2 separate regions of the Homo sapiens genome follow, and region 1 is linked to region 2. Evidence: promoter capture Hi-C in 16 types of primary human blood cells and fetal thymus (Javierre and others, 2016). All regions are on one chromosome and are shown on one strand. The core of a region is centred on a gene start or on the middle of the fragment in contact, and the rest is flanking DNA. Distances in the headings are between cores, read along the strand shown. Region 1 has its middle 38 kb from the start of ADRB2. Region 2 holds the start of ADRB2 (adrenoceptor beta 2).

Region 1 (6,395 bases), core at 1,163-3,662, 37 kb after region 2:
AATTAATTACATATTACATTGCCTTTTATTTCATAGTACCTACCACTGATGGATAAACCACCTATTTGTCTTTTATGCAAGGGGATCCCCTCTCATTCAGCTTGTTGATAGATGTAGTGAAACCTCCTTAAGTCATGAGGAGCTTAGTCTAGTGGTTAGAGAGCAGAACTGAGTCACAAAGTCTATTTCCCAAAATGAGTCACTTTGTAGCTAGCATTTTGCTTTAGTAAGAGTCAGAGATGGAAAAAGGGGGACACATTGGTGGGGTAGGGCTGTGGATGTGGGTGGGGGATGGGACCCCTCCTTCCTGTGGTGAGCAGCTCTGGAGTCTGGCTTGACCACCTCTCTTCCTTCAAGACCAGGTGGCGTTTCACTGGATGAATTATTTCAGTTTATCATTGCTCCTGATGTTTACATGTTTCCAGTTTCTTTTTACTACTCCAAGAATCTACTTTTGGAAACACCAGTCATACTTGCTGTGTGACCTTAGCCAGGTCTCTTCCCTCTCTGGTCCTCATTCTAATAATCTACTAAGTGGTGGGATTGTGTCTGGTGTCTCTAAAGTTCATTTCACTTTGGCGTTCAGACCTCCTAGGATGGAGGTTAGAGTTCTAGGTGTGTTCTCGTGTGCCAAGGAGAAAGAATGACCCACTCATTGCACCCATCATTTCCTGGATCCTGACACATCATCCTGTAATTTCAGACTGGCTCCTAGGGCACCTCATGCCAGCTGGTTATTTTCCATCCCACCTATAGTGCTGCCATCCTCTAAGCACAAGAAAAATGGTGCTGGCACTGGAGAGGGTTAGCATTTTTAAAGGAGCCCAAATAGCCTTAGGGCCACTTGTTTCTTCAAGGCCCCAGGTGACAGTTCAAGAGCAAGTGAGATGGTCTTAACTTCACACAAAACCATTTATCAGGGAGTCACTTCCCATTTATGGCTGGTTGTTTTGGTTACCAAACAGACGGACATACATGGAATTATATTTCTCTCTCTCTCTCGTGTTTTTAATACTGAGGTGGGGCCATTGTGGGATTAGCTTAGAGCCATGAGTCATTGGGTGCAGGGCATGTTTCTATTTGTCGTAGCATTTTATTATTATTATTGAAGCATCTATAACCGCGTGGGAACTGGAGCCCAGCTTGACCACCTCTCTTCCTTCAGATGGCCTCTATGTTCCTACATATGTCATAAGCAGCGTGAGCAACAGCTACACACTCATTCGATAATGGAGGACATGCCAGTTGAAGTTGGGTCCAGAATTCTTCATACCTGACTAGCCTGTGGGCATATAATGGTTAAAATTACTGGAGAAATTTCAATGAAGAGGGGGAAGAAAAAGAGAGAGAGCACTGATTTGGGAATCAGGAGTTTAAGCTTGATTAGTAAGCATTACATAAATTTGGGTCAATGATTTTACCCCTTTAGGAGAGTAGGGTGATTGGGGCAAAAAAAGGAAATAAAGTTTGTCTAGTTTTCCAGACCAATTAATTGGTAGTAGCTGTCTGATGCGGTGTGCTGAGAATTATGGAACATCATTTGGATCCTTGGGAAGAAGATCCTTGGAAAATGAGCAGCATTGAAGCTCTGTGAGAAGAATCTTGAGTCCCATAGTAATGTCTGCCAAGGACTCTGGCGGAGGAGAGACATAAAGGGAGTGGGGAGTGTTTGCCATTCTGGCACTAGATGATCTTCAAAGTCCCATACAGATCCAAACATTTCATGGTTAGAAATTAAAGAAAATAAACTTGCTCAAATTTGTTACCACTTCAATTTTTCTCGTTGGAACTTTGTTACCAGAGCATATAATTTTCAGACCTAGCTTCATTACTGGCAAAGGGAATATCTCTGGAACTTTTGTTATGTGCACCACAGATATTAGCGCTGCTTAAAAGTTCTAAGTAAGAACTATAAGAACTCCAAGTCGTCATAAAAGAGATGTCTTCTACAATTGTTAGGGGGCTGAACATAGGATGGTTGAACAGTTTGTGCAGTTTTGGAAAAATTGTGTTCCATGTAACTTACTGTTTTTATACTATAAACTGCAAAAACAACCTCCCACCTCCTCGTCCCTTCAGCTTCTTCCAGATCTGTGCTCATATTTGGTGCATGTGTTTAAAAGGCTAAGAAATACTGCCAGCCATAAAGTGTAGGCAGTTCTTCAAGGAGAGTAAATGATGTTTGGATGCAGGGAGAGGTAGCTGGCTCAACAGAAGGAAATGTAGGAGTCTTTGTTGAACACAGTCTCCAATAAACCAACAGGATTTTGGGGCTTCTAAAAAGCTCATCTAATGTTCAGCTAAATTAAGAAGTTCCATGAGTGTAAAATCCCCCCATACTCTAGTCTAGCGGGTCCAGCCTTGGACAATTATATTCAGGCCTGAGCATCACATTATCAGGATGGTGAGCTATTTAGAACTATGTATAGTTATGCACAATTGGAAGATTTAAGAGAGTCAGGATTCCATATGGGTGTCTCTCATTTCTATTGTCTCTGTTCAGCCCTGTTTCCTCCTTCAGCAGATGGGTTTCTTCCATAATGACATAGGTTAGGTTCCCTGGGAAAACAAACTCTCCGATGGAGATCTGTGTGGACACCAGCTCTGAGAGAATGAAGGAAGCAAGAGGGGAAAGAGGGAGAAGTTGGGCTACAGTGCCTTCACAACAATTGCCTCATCCAATCCCATGGGGATCTCTGGAGCTGCGATAGCTCTTCAAGATTTTCCCAAATTTAAACAGAGGTATCAGGTCTTTATACCTCTATATTAACCAATTATTGGATGTGGCTGGCTGGGAAACCAAGGGAAAGGCAGCTTCCTTGTGCAGAGAAAGATTCAGCTGTGAGTCGTACTAGTGGCATTTGCGGTAGTCAGTGTCAATGCATCAGTCCTGATCTGGTGGCATATCTAGAGGCCCATCATGGGACCCACTACGATGAAGATATGACCACTAGTGGCCGTAGATTTACATTTGTCTAGCTCTATTACTTCAAAAAGAAAAGATTCTATATTCCAGCTTTAATCTTTAAAAGTCGTGGAGGAGTGCTCTGATTGAATCAGCTTGGGTCAAAAACTCTAGCCAGAAGTTAAGGAATTATGATTGAATGACTTTGAATCTTGTTGACTCTTATGGCAAGGTGGATGAAGCTGGGTAACAGAAAAGAGGTGAAGCTCTATGGTGAGGGGGCAGCCACCCAGGTGTAAACGCCCTCATCTGTCCTGGGAATGAGGGAGGTCACTGGGACTAAGTAGCATAAGAGGGCAGAAAGAGCTAGCTCAGCTCCATGGACAGGGTGTTCTCTCTTAGTAATTACAAATGCCTTCTGTTGGGGAGAAGCTCCCATAATAAGAAACATTTCAGCAGAGGTCATATGTTTCCTTCTTTCCAGTCTTCTTTAGAAAAGTTTCCCTTATTTGGATTACATCAGAATTAAATGAGAAGCTTTAAACTGATACCGATCATTGGGCTCCATTACTAGAGATGCCGATTCGATAGGTCTGGTGTGCGGCCCAGGACTCAATGTTTTAAAGACTCCTCATTTGACTTTTATATGCTGTTATGTTTGGAAACACTAGCCTATGGAGCCAATATTTTACCAAAGCTGCTCTGCTTGAATTGCTCATGCATTTGGAGCTCCAGGGGGAGTGTGGGAGGAGAGACAAAGGAATTGTGCTTACTTTCCCACCTTGTCACCCCTTATCCCAAAGGTGATCCCTGAGTCATCTCTGTAGAACAGAATTGAAGATTACTAGTCTAGATTTCCAGATTATCTTTCAACTACAAAAACTTATTGATACCGTGGATATTCCAGGTAAAATAAAGCAATAAATTTATGCATTATTCTTTGCTGTTTCAGACATCTGCTGGCATTTCTGAACTGGGATTTATTTGGTGAAAAGAAGAGGTTTATTAAACTTGTCTTTTATTTATAAATGCTTTCTCAGTTCAGCATAGGGACATAACTTATTGTGGGTCCAAGAGTAAAGAAAGAGAAGTAAGTTAACTGTGGAATCTCTGGAGTCCTGACAGGTGTTTTCTGATTCAGCAAAGGAGATAATTTGGGAGTAACTGAAGATGGTCTTCCTTTTAAAGAAAGTACATGCTTATAGAACTGCCATGTTTTGAACATGTCCCCTGCAAAGTTCAGGTGCTGCCAGTGTTGCAATTAAGAGGTGGAGACTTCATGAAATAATTAGGCCCTGGGGCTGCTCCCTCACTAATGGGATGAAGACCCTTTTAAAAGTAGAGGCTTTGCATAGGCGTTTAGCCGGCTAGCTTCTGCCCTGTGAAGACTCAGCAAGAAGGCCCTCAATGGTCATCAGAAGCCGGAGCTTTAATCTTAGACTTTCCAGCCTCCAGAACTGTGAGAAATAAATTTCTGTTCCTTATAAATTACCCAGTCTCAGATATTTTCGTTATAGCAGCAGGAATGAACTAAGACAAGAACACTGCCAAAGACACAAAAATAGAACTTTTTTGAAGCTATTAACCATGCCTATAATTTCTTTTTATTTCTGTCAATGTGCAAGCAGAGATTTTGCTCAGCTCTAATACTTGGGTTAATTTTTTCCACTTAGCATAATTTATATGTACATCTTTATGTATCCTTATGGCCTTTGTAGTTTTACAATTTTATGGCTACACAATAGTTGATTGCTTTAAGGATACCATCGTCGGCTTTATCTCACTCTAAGCTGGGGCATTTGGGTGATTTCCATTTTGCTATTAAGCATTGCATTGTGGTTTGGTACCTATCCTTGCCTGTAACTGTACTTCCAGAATCCCCAGTGCCAAAATTCCTTTCCCTGACTACAAGCTTCTCTCTCAGTTTCCTCAGTTCCCTCATATGTGATCCAATGGCCTGCCAGTCTGGCTCAACCCCCCTACTGCTTTTTCTATTCCAGCTAAGGAGCTACTGGTCACTATTACTGTGTAAAGTTTCCAGCTTTATCACATAAGTGCTCAAGAAATGTCATCTATTATGATAACAACTGAGATCAGGATATGATTATTCTTAAATTCATGTCAGTCTCTTACTCATCTTATCCAACCCTTACCCAAGAGTGTCTGGCTCACAGATCTTACAAAGATATTTGCTCAAACAGTGGATGATTTTAAGTCATTATTTTTGTCAAGTGTTCTTTTGCACTTTAAATAAGAATTTCTTCTACTTTTTTTTATTATGAAAATATTACACCATGAATTCCTGGAGGACATAACACATATTTTATCTTTTATTGTATTTCTAGTATTAGTCTGGTTTATGTCAAAGATTTATAATTTTATTCAAGTCTATTTAATGGTTTTTGCTTAGAATTATTAAGTAATTTCTTTTATTTTTTCTAGTTTTGCAATAATAGTATAAACTGTGATTAGTCACAAAGAATATATCTTAGCATATGGATAAATTCTATTTGCTTAGATTCTGTTTAGAAAGTCTCATAATAAAATAAATTACTTACCATATAAAAATTTTCTTTTTATTTTAAAACACAGATTTTGGAAGTAAATATTCAAAAAAAATTACCTGTAATACCAATTATATTTGTTGTGGTAGTAATAAGACTTATTTAAAATTTTTTTCCAATTTCTTTCTTGGTTCATTAGTGAGTTTACATCTCTTTTTCTTTGGGGGTCAATTTTGGTCATTTATATTGCTGCAAAGGCTAAGCTATGTCACTGAAAATTCAAGTATATTAGCATGACGTTGAATAATAATAACTTTAAAAGGCATTTTTCAAATTAATAATGTATATAGTTAAAGATGTTGAACTATAGTACACAATAAAAAATGGCAATCCTCTATCCACTTCTCTCTCTTTTAGCTTCAATCCCGAGGCAACCACTGTCAACTTTTTAAACTGTATCCTCTATTATTTATCTCAGTAATTCTGAACAACCTGTCTATACCGTCATTACTTTTTAAAGTAGTATACTCCCGTGTTTTGGCTATGCTCTTTATCCCACTCTCGGAAATCCTGGAGCCCCAGTTTCTGGGTAAGGGATTCTATATCTTCCCCCTTTCAAAGATTTTGTTGGTATCAGGTCTGAGACTGTCTTATCTTTCCTTTCTTTAGTCCTTGTTGACTTATGATGTTTTTGCAAAAATATTCTTTACTGTCTGTTTGGTGGGTTTCAGAAATAAATAGAGATAAATCATATTTACAACCTGCCATGATTAACTGGTAGTCTCTAATAACCTTTCAAAGAATTCAAAAAATGAATACATGAATCATGATAGGTAAATATTTTCAGTGTTCAAAATCCAAAAGGTACACAATGTTTTAAAGTAAAAACATTCTCTTCTACCATGGTGCCTGGCCAATCAGTTCTCTGCAACCAATGCCAACAGTTTCTTAGCAGTCTTCTAGATATATATTAGGAATGTATGTAC
Region 2 (6,703 bases), core at 3,009-5,508:
ACCCTTAAAACTAATCAAGGTTCTTGTGTCTACAGTATTCCTAAAGGAACGTGAATATGGTTAAACTCTCCTTTTAGCTGGGAATCTGAATTAACATTAATACCTGAATTTTAACAGAAATTACATTAGACATTCCTTTAGGCAAAAGAGTATATATACAACACCGACATCTGGTTATAAAGAGCTAAGGAATCTCCCAGCTTCCCTAAATGCAGAAGATATCCTAGTGGATGCTTGTTGAGTTAAATGAACAATTATTTCTTTTGTCTCTATTGCAGATTATTTGTTTATGCTCTAAATTTTGTGTTAAGGACAAAAGAAAAATATATTGGCTGAAATGAATGTGTTATGTTATAGCCCCAGTTGAGGGTGAGGAAAGAACGCAATGCTAATGTGGTGGAGAGAATGCAGCAGTTCCTGGAATAGCAGTTGGGTTCCCTGGCTTGAGTCCCACTCTGACATCCTTGGCTGCTTACCTTGGGCAAGCCCTTCACCTCACAGCGTTTCAGTCTCATCAGATGTTAAATACTTTCTATGGGCTCTTCCATGTCTGAGATCTTATGAGGCTACAGGGAGCATGAATATTAGCCAAAGAAGCTGCCCAAATCTCTGAGTGTGGAGACCAGAGCAGTAGAAAGAGAATGTGATAATAGCAGTAGAAAGAGAAGGTGATAATGTGTAATAAGGGTTTTCAATAGGTATGAAAACCCTTGGAAAAAAGTAAAAGCACTGAATGACACACATTCTCCAATTTGCCATGGCATGTTCCAAAATCACAGGCGCCTAACCTTCTCCTGATAGCTCGGTGCTCACCCAAACATCCCATCATTGAGTTGACAGGAAGCAGAGAAGGCCAATGCTTTTCTGGTTGGGGACCTTGGCTGCAACAGAAAGGAAGAGGGGAGTGGAGTCAGCTTCATGAGCCAGTGGAATGGCAATGAACCCTGCAGGCTGATCTGCTCTAGCCTGGCGTTGCCAAGGAGGACGATCCACTTCATCAAACCTGGGCCAAGCTCTGGCTCAGACACACAGGCAAAAATAGAAAGGGGCTGGGAGAAGAAATGTGTTTACTTTTGTGATTTCCCCTAACGTGCCTCTTGACAGTATTATAATCTCTTCACAAACAGGAGTCATGGCCCACAGGCCTCACCTCCATTGATAAACCCTCTCAAACAATTCATGTACAGACTTAAAGCCTTCTTAACATTTCATGATCACTATTTGGGCAGCTAGAAAACAAGTTTAGAAGGCAGCATGATGGAATGGAAAGAGTGCTGGTGAGGGTCTGTTACTGCCTAGGTGAACTGTGAAAATCCCTCTCTAAGGCTCTGCACAATCAAGCGCTTGCATTAGAAAGAATGTATGTATCTGCTGAGATTTTTACAGTTTCTACCAGTGACTCTCAACCAGGGGCTAATTCGCACCTCAGGGGCTCTTTTGCAATGTCTGGAAACATTTTTGCTTGTTATAAGCAGGGGGTGCTATTGGCATCTAATGAACAGAGGCCAGAGGTGCTACACATACAATGATGCAGCCCCCATAACAAAGAGTTATCTGGTCCAAAATGCTAACAGTGCTAAGACTCAGAACCTTGGTTTACACTGAATCGAGGAGAGTCAGTGGGAGAAGAAAACAGGGACCAAAGGAAAGAAGGAAAAGGGGTTAAAATTCTGTTTCTAGTTCATGAGGTATCCATCAGTTATGTGTTCTCCAGCTTTTCTCCCCATGACCAATGCCTTTTGAATTTTCCCTCAGAATTACGGGGCCATGTCTGAGTAGCTTCCTCATAAGAACATCTTCCTTATCCCTAAAATGCCAAGCCCTGATGCAGTACAAAGAGCTCCACTGTAACACATGGCCAAGACAGAAATATAAACAGTTTTGAAACAAGTAGAACTGGAAGGTGGGTGGTGGGTGCACGTGGAGAGAAAAAAACATATCCCCTTAACTCCGCTTCTGTGAGTCAGTGTTTCTGAGGTAACAACACAGAACAATAACCATAGGGAGAGTTGAGCTATACTAAGAGCAGGCAGAACTGATTTGGGGCACAAGTGTCAGGAGAGATGCAGCTTTGCAGCAGCAGACTCAAAGGCAAATGAAAGGGTTAAGCAATCTGTGCATGTCATTCTTGTATCATTCTACATTAAGTCATGGGCAGTAATTACAAGTAGTTACCTGCGGTTTCCAGTGGGGGAGGCAACAGCACTCCAGTCAAGGGGTTTTGGAGAAACAGGTGCAATGAAGGCATGGTCAAACAATTTATTTACTGTAAACTTTAGACTTTGCTCGGGAAAACAACTGAAGCTGCTCCTCAAATCCCTGCCTAAAATACCCCGTGTGAGCAAATAAGAGGAGTGGGGGAAGAGTCCATGTTCACAGCTGAAAGGTCCGAGATACTCAAAATCCTCAAGTCCAAGGGTGTAGGAAGGAAAATCTCCTTCAGATACAAATTACCAGCAGCAATATATTACCCCTAATACTTGAATAGTGAGGTAGATACATGGAAAAGTCATGAAAATATAGCAGACTCAGGTCCTCTAGGACTAAAGCTCTTTAGACATAAACTTACAAATTCCATGCAAAGAGGAACTGAACTGTACAAATAACAAATAATCACTCAAATAAGTTTTCTCTCTTTTTACAGCTTAAAAAAATAAAAAAGGCAGAAGGATGCCCTTCCTTCTGCATATCTCTATACAATTTTACAATTTTATTCTAAGTTTATTACCCTCAAGTTAAATAGTCTGTTTAGTGTTCTGTTGGGGGGGGGGGTCTTTAAAAGTAGAAAAACTGCTTTACAGCAGTGAGTCATTTGTACTACAATTCCTCCCTTGTGAATCAATGTTATCGCTAGGCACAGTACCTTGATGGCCCACAAAGTCTTCCGTGCCTGGGAGGTCTTCACACAGCAGTTTATTTTCTTTCTCCTGTTCCACGTGATATCCACTCTGCTCCCCTGTGTTGCCGTTGCTGGAGTAGCCATTCCCATAGGCCTTCAAAGAAGACCTGCGCAGGCACAGAAGCTCCTGGAAGGCAATCCTGAAATCTGGGCTCCGGCAGTAGATAAGGGGATTGAAACCAGAATTGACATAGCCTATCCAATTTAGGAGGATGTAAACTTCCTTACGGATGAGGTTATCCTGGATCACATGCACAATGTTAACGATGAAGAAGGGCAGCCAGCAGAGGGTGAAAGTGCCCATGATGATGCCTAACGTCTTGAGGGCTTTGTGCTCCTTCAAGCAGAACTTGGAAGATCTGCGGAGTCCATGCCCCGTCCGCCCATCCTGCTCCACCTGGCTAAGGTTCTGGACATGGAAGCGGCCCTCAGATTTGTCAATCTTCTGGAGCTGCCTTTTGGCCTCCTGAAAGACCCTGGAGTAGACGAAGACCATGATCACCAGGGGAACGTAGAAGGACACGATGGAAGAGGCAATGGCATAGGCTTGGTTCGTGAAGAAGTCACAGCAGGTCTCATTGGCATAGCAGTTGATGGCTTCCTGGTGGGTGGCCCGGTACCAGTGCATCTGAATGGGCAAGAAGGAGGTAAGGCCTGACACAATCCACACCATCAGAATGATCACCCGGGCCTTATTCTTGGTCAGCAGGCTCTGGTACTTGAAAGGTGAAGTAATGGCAAAGTAGCGATCCACTGCGATCACGCACAGGGTCTCAATGCTGGCCGTGACGCACAGCACATCAATGGAAGTCCAAAACTCGCACCAGAAGTTGCCAAAAGTCCACATTTTCATAAGAATATGGGCGGCCCCAAAGGGCACCACTGCCAGGCCCATGACCAGATCAGCACAGGCCAGTGAAGTGATGAAGTAGTTGGTGACCGTCTGCAGACGCTCGAACTTGGCAATGGCTGTGATGACCAGCACATTGCCAAACACGATGGCCAGGACGATGAGAGACATGACGATGCCCATGCCCACCACCCACACCTCGTCCCTTTCCTGCGTGACGTCGTGGTCCGGCGCATGGCTTCCATTGGGTGCCAGCAAGAAGGCGCTGCCGTTCCCGGGTTGCCCCATGGCGCGCAGTCTGGCAGGTGAGCGCACTGGCTGGGGGCGCCTCAGCGGGCGGACCCACGGCGGGGCTCTGCGGGCCGCGAGCGGACGCCTGGAAGCCTCATTCAGCGGCTGTGGTGTGGGTGTGGTGGGGACTCGTCCTGCACACTCAGCTTGTCGGGTGCTAGGGGCTCGCGGTGCCTGCCAGTTCCAGCCCGTGCTCTGAAGAAGCCGCTTCGCAGTGCGTTCTGCCCGTTATGTGCACAGGACTTTAGGGGAACTGCCCTCGCCGTGACGTACGGGAACTTTCGGCCAATGGCACGCCGGCAGCCGCGAAGGGGCGAGGCACTCCTCCCCTTTCCCTCCCCTCCCCTCGCCCTCCTTCTCCTGGGGCTGGCCCGGGCGGGGCCCAACTGCTCCCTGGAGGGCGGGCCACCACTGCTTCCCGGCTACCCTGGCTGGCCCCAGAGGGCTAAAGCTGGAGGTGGTGTCCTTACCAGCCAACCCGGGAGCTTTTGGCTCTTCTGTGGCCGCTACCTGCCTGCCCTGGGCGCCTGCGCGGCTTGAGGTCTCAAGGCAGAGGGCAGCACACCGGCACTGCCCCACATTCGGAAGGAAACGAGAGTGCCCACCGAGGCACGCACATACAGGCACAAATACACCCTGGCAGACATGCTCAGACTTATACCGAACCACAGCCATAGACACTGAGACACACCCTCCCAGCTCACCGACATGCACACTCGCGCGCGCTCTCACACAGAAGCCATCCGGCACAAAGTCACCCCTGTCCAACACAGAAACGCGGCCAGAAACAAACACAGAAGCACCCAGAAGCACAAAGACATGGTGACACACACAGAAAGTAAACACACGCTGGCTTGGAGGCATCCAGAGCGACACAGACACGGATGTCTCCATCTGGGTACTCCGAACTTGCCTCACCCGAGCACTGATAATGCTCCCCTCCCAACATACACCCGGTAACCCAGTGTATTCCCTTTCAAACATTTGGCAAGAGCACAGGAGGTGACTTCAACAGCTGCTGATTTCCTCAGCACACTCGCTGTCAAGTACTTTAGGTGCCCTCCTTAGGAATTTGCAGGCATGAAGACAGTTTTACCCTTTGGATTTTATCTGGAGCGGGGGTATGCAAGTATGTATTTTGGGACAGAGAGAGAAAGTTGTGTGCTTTTGTTTTAATTTTTTTGTTGTTTTGTTTTTAACTCTTGAGAGTGTGGCATCACTCACTCATTATCTGTTGAACTGGAGATGCAATGAGAATTCAAACAATTTCTTCAGTAAACCCAATGAAACTAAAAAAAATCCTTTCATCTGCTGGATAGTTTGTTAATCTTTCGGGTTGTGCCATGTGAAATTGCCACCATCTGGCGTCTGTGACTTACCAAAATGGCAAATTCATATGGTTCAGAGTATTAAGAATGTCTTAACATTAAGAACATTTTGAAGCTATAGAAAGCAAAAGATCCTGGCCAATATGGTGTAACTCTTGTCTCTACTAAAAATACAAAAATTAGCCAGGTGTGGTGGCACGTACCTGTAGTCCCAGCTACTCGGGAGGCTGAGACAGGAGAATCTCTTGAACCCGGGAGGTGAAGGTTGCAGTGAGCCGAGATCACGTCACTGCGCTCCAGCCTGGGTGACAGAACAAGACTCCATCTCAAAACAAAACAAAACAAAAAACACAAGATAATTCTCCCTTAAGAAAAAGAAAAAAGTAAGACCAAATCTCAAAAGTAAGATCTTTGTTCATGAAATACTATCCTTTCCATCTGGCATGTGACTTTACTGCTAAAGTGAAATTAATTTTCAGGGTTTGATTTCCCATGTATTAGTGGTGTCTTTGAAAAACTGAAAGTATTTCATGAAGTGTAACTAAACGTACTTTGTAGATTACATAATAACATAACAATGGTTAACATTTATGGACCATTCTGCTATTTGCTTTTCATGCATTATTCTATTTAATCCTTCCCACAGTCCCATGGGGGTGGGGACTATTTTTAGCTTAATTCACAAATGAGGTTCAAAGAGGAAAATGGCTTGCCCAGGGGCAATGGCTGGGCAGTGCCAGAATCTGGATTTGACCCAGGTCTGCCTGAGTCCAAGACCCATCTTTTAATCTTTTCAATGTATTGCATAATTACATGCAGACAGGAGTGATGGATAGGGAGGAAGGGCTACAACTGGAACTGGAATACCCAGGTTCCAGATTCACCAAACTTGGAGCTTTCTAGTTCATTTTTTTTTTTTTTAAGAGAAATCACGAAGTACCTGATTTCCATTGTCTCTAAAGGGGCATAAAGTCACTTCCATTGGGGTAAGCAAGAATTGAATGATATAGTAAGAAATATGAAAATGCTTTTGCTCATATAAGTGTCACACAAGTGTAGTTTGTAAGCGAAGTTTACATAAATTACTTAGTGGTTTAGAATATGTTGTTAGTCTTCTCTACTAGAACAATAAAATACTTTAGGGCAAAAGTAAGTTGGGTGTTTACTCTGGAAGCAAAGCTCAGAAACAGAATTTAACCTACATATCCCCTTTAACATCCTTCATAGCAGAAACTGACTTTTTGCAAGACAGATGCCTTAGAAAACAAGTATTTCCCATAAAATCCACAAATATGAATTAAAGATCTATTATATTCACATAGTTTTCAAAATACA

What was found. The method cuts DNA at HindIII sites, captures the fragments that hold promoters and counts their contacts. A CHiCAGO score of 5 or more calls a contact.
Region 1: a contact is called between a fragment that was not itself captured here and the fragment with the promoter of ADRB2 in region 2, in 2 of 17 cell types (naive B cells and total B cells). The highest score is 5.6, in naive B cells.

The regions. Positions count from the first base shown.
Region 1 is chr5:148,785,298-148,791,692 of GRCh38, reverse strand. No RefSeq gene overlaps it. Among named protein-coding and RNA genes, the nearest start is that of ADRB2, 38 kb to the left of the region's middle. The HindIII fragment of the contact is 2,064 bases long and covers 1,381-3,444 here.
Region 2 is chr5:148,824,166-148,830,868 of GRCh38, reverse strand. It overlaps ADRB2 (adrenoceptor beta 2), which reads right to left and starts at 4,258. Exons shown (of 1, transcript NM_000024.6): 1 at 2,246-4,258. The coding sequence starts at 4,037. The coding sequence ends at 2,796. RefSeq lists enhancers at 3,358-3,943, 4,800-4,959 and silencers at 3,990-4,129, 4,220-4,529. The HindIII fragment of the contact is 9,818 bases long and covers 1-6,703 here.